2 separate regions of the Homo sapiens genome follow, and region 2 is linked to region 1. Evidence: promoter capture Hi-C in human tissues and cell types (Jung and others, 2019). All regions are on one chromosome and are shown on one strand. Each heading gives the region's core, a stretch centred on a gene start or on the middle of the fragment in contact. The rest is flanking DNA. Distances are from core to core; before and after follow the strand shown. Region 1 holds the start of SPRED1 (sprouty related EVH1 domain containing 1). Region 2 overlaps LOC124903465 (a long non-coding RNA gene).

Evidence for each region. Contacts are between HindIII fragments. The study calls those that stand out against the background at their distance.
Region 2: a fragment that was not itself captured here is called in contact with the fragment with the promoter of SPRED1 in region 1 in 1 of the 25 tissues and cell types used here (dorsolateral prefrontal cortex).

The regions. Positions count from the first base shown.
Region 1 is chr15:38,251,013-38,254,344 of GRCh38, forward strand. It overlaps SPRED1 (sprouty related EVH1 domain containing 1), which reads left to right and starts at 1,824. Exons shown (of 7, transcript NM_152594.3): 1 at 1,824-2,205. The coding sequence starts at 2,174. RefSeq lists silencers at 1,174-1,473, 1,484-1,533, 1,634-1,733, 1,914-1,973, 1,984-2,033 and 2 more. The HindIII fragment of the contact is 9,791 bases long and covers 1-3,332 here.
Region 2 is chr15:37,109,070-37,112,401 of GRCh38, forward strand. LOC124903465 (a long non-coding RNA gene) reads left to right here. Exons shown (of 2, transcript XR_007064581.1): 2 at 1-915. Among named protein-coding and RNA genes, the nearest start is that of MEIS2, 10 kb to the left of the region's middle. RefSeq lists a silencer at 1,299-1,348. The HindIII fragment of the contact is 4,400 bases long and covers 1-3,332 here.

The DNA of each region.
Region 1 (3,332 bases), core at 574-3,073:
GGAACTTGGGAGCACTTGGGATTCAGTCCCCTAAGGTGGTTCATGTACAGGCTGGTTTTCTAAGTGGAGAACAGATAATAGAATTTGCAGAGCCAGGAGCTCTGACTCCTGTGGCTGGGCTGACCTTAGGCTCCAGCCCGCAACCCCAGTAGGTTTCTGTGCAAAAATCTTTTGAGATGAATGCATACTTTGTCTTCTAACAATGCATTCGTGACAGCTGTCTATCCAATCGGTCCGCCTCCGTTCAGAGCAGTTCGTGCCACAGAAGCATCTCCTGCGCTATAGTTATGCAACCTCACTCGCAGCGGGAGTTATTTCCTCCGTTCTGGCTGCGCCAGATTCATGTAACACGCCTACCCTGGGCTTCAATGGAAGTCGTTCTCCATTAACAATCACTCCAGCTTTCCGAGATGAATGCCCTGATAGCATACCCCTTGCGCAGTAAGAATCCAGGCAGCGAGGCGAGGTGTTAAAACACACATACATTCTCATATTCTCTCTCTCTCTCTCTCACACACACACACACACACACACACACACACATACACTTCGTGCATGCAGCTAGGGGACTGCAGCAGTGCAACCAGGGGGACAGCAGGAGGAGCTCTCTTTGCAGTCCCTGCTTCTAACCCCCACTAACTAAAGATGAACTCATGCCAGTTCCATTCTTTGCTCTGCAAAGAAAACACACACACACACACACACACACACACACACACACACACACACACGGCAGAAGAGAGTAGCCTCCAGATTTCCCCTCTGAGCACACTGTCTTTCTAGCCTCTTCGTTCAAGCAACCCGGATATTCCAAGCAGAGTAACGGGGAGTAACGCGCCACAACAATGCAACCTCCCTAGCAGCTCCCCTCGCAGCTCCCACCCCCGCCCCCTTTCGCGGCGTGCCAAGAGTTTGGAGCGCGCGCACGCACACCGAGCACGGTGCAGGGAGGATATCCCTCCGCCTCCCTCCCCCTTTCTCCGCTAAGTGGCTCGACAACGATTTGGGAAATGAAGGGAGGAGGGAACTACTTTCCTGAAACTTGCTATGCTGCACATGACTTCGAGTTGCAGTGATTCGCCCGGAGGCCGCGGCTTTTAGTCCTACCCACACACCCTCACAGCCTGGGCACCCCGCTCGGCAGCCCCACCCCGCGCCCGCTCTGGCCTCCGGGGAAAGCGGGCGGCCGGGAGAAGTCGCGAGGGACTACTTCGCCTCCTTCTCTCGCGGGCGCCCCCGGTTCGGGCAGCGGCTGCGGCGGCGGAAGGAGCGGGCGGCGTGAGCGCTTCCGCCGCCCCCCTCGCGGCTCCCCTCTCTCGGGCGTGAGGAGCTGGCCCGCTGAGCTGCTGGTGGGCACTGGCTGGCGGGGAACCTGCAGCCGCTCTTGTCCTCTCCCGCCGCTTCTCGGGATCCTGCCCCCCGGACCCGGGCCCGCCCGCTCTTCTCCGGCCGGGTGGGAACGATCGGTTTGCCTGCCCCTCGCCTCACACGCTCCCCGCCGCCCCCTCCACCCCCCTGAGGAGGAGTCCCGGCTGGAGCGTGTCTGGAGGAATCCGCCGCCGCGGGGCCCCTAGCCCTGCTCTGCCGGCGCCTGAGGACCGACCCAGACGCCGCCGGGGGTTGAGGGGCAGCCGGCGGCGAGGCGGGAGATGGTGGGGTGGGCTCCGGCAGGACCGCGCCGCCGCTGCCCGGAGCCTGGGCTCGGCACCCCCCCGCCGGCCCCCACCGAGCGGAGCTCTGCTTCCTCCTCGCCGCATCCCTGAGGGAAGCGCCGCCTCTGCTCCCGGGTTCTCCGCCCGCCGACTCCTTCCTGGCCGGACCCCGCTGCGCTCCACCCCAGTGGCTGGAGGAGCAGCTCTCCAGTCAGCCTTTGCAGCCCCTCTCTTTTTCCCTTTCCACCGGGCCTCCTCGGATCCCTTGGCTGGGCACTGAGGCGGGGGAAGAGGCTGGGGTCGCCACGGCGGAGGTTGCTGCCGCCACCCCCCTGCGGGGGTGGCCGGGGTTCCCGGCTGGGGGGGTACCGTTCTGGGTGAGGCATCCACCATGGTGAGGCCCCTGTGCCGCTGCCCCCGCGCCCCCCCGGCCGCCGCTGCCTCCTGCCCCTCGGTGCTGCTGTTGCTCCCCCGCCTGCTGTTGCTCCTCCATCTCCAGATCGGATCACGGTGAGGGAAAGATGAGCGAGGAGACGGCGACTTCTGACAACGAGTAAGCGCCTCATTGATCTCGATTGCTAATCCCCCTCCCCCTATCCGCCCTCGGCTCTCCCCCAGACCCATCCGAAACTTGGGTGCCGGAAAGCTTGCGACCCTGGAGAGTTCGGTGCATCTTCTGGAGATAGCTGATTTCTTTAGCCATTTTTAGTGGCAGCACCCCTCCCCATCCTCCCACATTTAGCTGCTTTCTTTTGGGGTAGGGGATTAAGTGTTGGGAGAGGATGGCAATTGTACGTCTATGAGAGGGAATAATGTGGATGGATGGAAGTGGAGTAGAAACTACCCCTTTGCCTGTGAGACCCCTGTCCCGTCCTTTTTCACTCACATACCAGTCACCATACCTTCAGTATCCATCCTACTTCCTTTATAGCTGTTTCACTTGGAAACTAATGTGTGGGAGCACCTCCTGCAGCAAACTGCTCTTGAATCTTAATTCGATGAGTCAGTGACTCTTAAATACCGATTAAGCCTTCACCCTCTCCCCCCTCCCCCTTTTAAACTTATGACCTGTAAGATTCTTGTAAAAAATAGGGTTAGGGAAACATTTTTAGAATTTAATAGGATTAAGGACACCTGGAGTGTGGGCGATGTTGAGCTAGAGTTTACCTTTGTGAATATTGGACGTGTCTTCAGGAACGGAGAAGAATTTTGAATGCTAATTTTTACCTTTCAGCTATGTGAAAACACATGATTTACGTTGATGTAACCGAATTTACATTGCTGAATATGTTGGTGATTTCATTAACTTTTAGAGCATTCCGGTTTAAGTTTTAGCTTATTTGGGCTTTCTCCTTGCTTTCCAAACGAAATACTTCGTCTTTTAAATGTTTTGCTTTAACGTGACAGCTGCGTGGAGAAATAATGGTTGGCAACACTTTTCTATTGAGAAGGGATTTAATTCCAAGCAGAATATTAGCATCCGTTTTCTTGTAATTAAGTTCAACTTTTGTTTATCTTCGGAGGGTTGGAAAGAGTTAAGTGAGTTAGGACTTAGTCATTTGGATGCATTCCTTTAAATACAGTGCATTACTAAAGTCAGACCTTTTTGAAATAACTTTTTAAAGTCTGTACCGAGTCCTGTTTAACGTAAAATAGCTAGAGAAAGGCCAAACAACATTT
Region 2 (3,332 bases), core at 592-3,091, 1.1 Mb before region 1:
CGCTCCATACTCTCCGTCCAGATGAATTGAAACTTATAAATCCACGCTCTCCCCAATTTTATGTTTTTTATTTATTTTTTTTCAGGGTTTGATAGGAAAGATACCCAAGTCTGATAGGGAAGACAGGGCCACTTCTGGACTAGCTGTGAGGATGTGTTTTCATTTCCATAACACTGAAGCACTTTCTGTAAACCTTTTGATGTACTTAAATAAGTCTATTTGGACATTTAAAGAAGCTACACATACAAACATAGCTTGGCTTTTTGCCGTCAATCCCAGCATTAAAAAAACATTCATAATCTAACTGAGAAGCTCTTTCATACCCATCCTTCTTTCAAATAAGTAAATAAATAAAGAAATAGAAGTGCAAACCAAAGAAAGTTTCCAGCGTGCATCTGTACGTCTTCGTGTGCGAGTTTATAAACAACTTCCAGTCGGTACTTGGGTGTTACCTCCCTCCTGCCACACACCCCAAGGCAGAGGCATCGAGGGATCGCCCCCAGAGAGCTGTGTTTACTTAGCTTGTTTTAAAAAAAATCTCGCCGCCATGTATGACAAGTGTTACTGCAAGAAATTCATCAGCCTTCTACAGATACTTCCAGTTTTGCTGTAATGATCTGCAGAAGAGAACTGCCATCACTTTCTCACATCCCAAGGTGTTGCAGGAACTCAGAGAGAGGGGAGAGTGGCTGAAACGCTTAATTACCGGAGGCGAAGGAGGGGCGCGCGGGGGACCGAAGGAGAGGGGAGTGAAGAAGGAAGGTCCTTTACCAGGCTTGTACCTGGAGAAAGCTTTGAATCGCTTCTCTGCTATATTTGGAAAAGGTATGCTTGCTTTTTAAAAAAATGCCTTTAGGGCAAAGTGATACCCTTGTGTAATAATTAACTCAGACAATAAAAATAATTGGAAAATCAGTTGGAATTTCTGAGTTTTTAATTACGTTTAATTTCGTACTAAGCCGTAAAATTACGAATGCCCCTCAATTAAACACTCTCCTCTTGTAAAGCGTTTAACAACAATTATTCCTTAATCAGTCTGAATGTGAGTCACAAATGGTGCTTTTCCACATCAAAGAGACGTCCTTCCACGTTACCTTTTAGTCATAAGTAAGAGGATTAATTCCTATAATTAGAGGGATAAATATGTGCATAAATATATCTCTCACCCTCTCCTTAAAAAACAAAACAAAACACTTTCACTCTGTGTGATACGTGGCCGGCTATGGTAGGGTAAGTGTTTGTAATCGTCTGCCTCTGCCCGGCATCCCTTTGCTGACGGGTGACTGGAACGGAGGAGACGCCGCGCGAAGCGCAGGGCCCCAGAGGGACACATGCACAGAGGCGCACACACGGGTCAGGCAGGAGGCGCAGAGTTCGGGGGCCCGGGACTCCACCAATTCCAGTGCGATCCTCCCCAGACAATAACCCACCTCCCACCTTGGCCCTGCCCAGCGCAGCAAGACAGTTGTCTCCCTGTCGGTCTGCTTGTCCAGAAGAGCGGGGTCCCTGCCCTAAGCCCCAGCTCCAGCTTGACTCTTCAGGCTACAAATAAAAATTGAGCGTGACCTTTTAAAACTCCAGTGTGAATATCTCATTTACCTAATGACTTTATGTCACCTAGGAAGAAGGTCAATTTCCTCTTAACCTTTTCCCCGCTGCTGCAGTAAGCATTCTTCCCTAATCAATGGTGGCTGGAATAATCAATTCCCATTTTATGATCGCTGACAAACTCAATCTCAGGGCGGGGTGTGAGAGCTGGGGGTGAGCTGGCTCGGGCCGGGACAGAGGTCTCTCTGCGTACGCCCCGCTCCGCCCGGCGCCAAGGGAAGCCGCTGTCTCTTCCGTCGAGTTCTGAGACCTTGGCAAACTTCCCTCCCCCAACCGCCGGCGTGACTTCTGAGTTGTCACTAATCCGAACCTGATATTCACCAGAGCTCCTTCGGTCACCGACAACGCTCCCCGCTGCTGCCGCGGCCTCCCGCCCGCCCTCCTCGGCGTGTTTTCATTTCTAAGTCTACGGGCAGGGATTGCCCCGACCCAGTGTGTGTGTGCGTGTGTGTGTGTGCGTGGTTTCATTTACATTTTAAAAATCATTTTTGCGTTCTTCAGCGTGGATCTCAGCACTTTCCCTGTGTCTCAGGCCGACTAACTTTGCATAAACAAAGCAACAACCGAAGCTCATAGTGGGTGAAATCTTGCGGGGAAATGAAGGCAACCTGGTGGAGTTCGATCTCTCTCTCTCTCTCTCTCTCTCTCTCTCTCTCTCTCTCCCTCTCTCTCTCTCCCTCCTCTCTCTCTCCCTTCCCCACATTTCTTCCTCTTCTTTTACCTTCTTCCTCCACTCCCCCCTCCACCCCAAATTCAGCTATCCTAAACCATAGGTTTATCAGATACCACTTCCTCCTCTTTTTAAATTCTTCAGACCTGCCCCAGTCTGGGGAAATTACTGGGCAAATTACTAGATCAGAGCTATTTTGAAAGCTAATTTGGGGTAAACTCACCGTTCCTTATCTTTGCAGGGTTTAAATATGAGCCGCTCTCTGGTTCTAATCCCTCATAAAGTAGAAATTGACTTTTACACATGCAGGGCCTATTTGAAGGGGGGAGGTCTCTTAACACTGGTTCACCACGGGTCACTGGAAACTTCTCCCCCTTATTCCACCCTAATCCCGTTTTCACTCACTACCAAGACACTGAAGCCGCTGATGATTAAAGCAATCTCAAAAGTCTTGCTTAGCTAGGGTTCAATGGCAGGGAAATCATTTTCCTCAAAAAAAGACGTTCTGTAGCCAGGTTTTTGAAGATTTCCTATGAAGAGTCAATCTCTCAATACTGTATTACCCAGTTAGTTAAAAGGGAACCCCAAACTGAACTTTCTCTCCCAGAGCGCACTCTCAGGCCTGCCTTGCCTATGGGGATAATCTTTAAAAAGGTAATCAAACCATTCCTTTTCTTCATTCACAGATCCTCTTTACTTGTAGGCAGACATTCTGCTAAAATCGGAAAGTTTTCCAAATAATCAAAAACAAACATATAACTCTTCCACTTTTTATCCTTCACTCTGGTGTAAAAAGCAAACAAACAAAAAGGGCCTTTGAGTTCGAGGGGAGGGATATCTGGGCCACTGTTCACCCATGAAAGCTTCCTACATCCTGTTAGTAATGAAGATGGCAAATCATGGCACTTGCCTGAAACTTTCAGGTTCCATTCTTGCATTGAGCCTCAAGGTGCTAGAGTGTGAGGGGCAGTGAGAACATGCCAGGTTCAGGACCTGACCTGGGACAGAAGCACTGAGTTCTCAGTATTGTCATTTTCCTCTTGCTTCATACCAG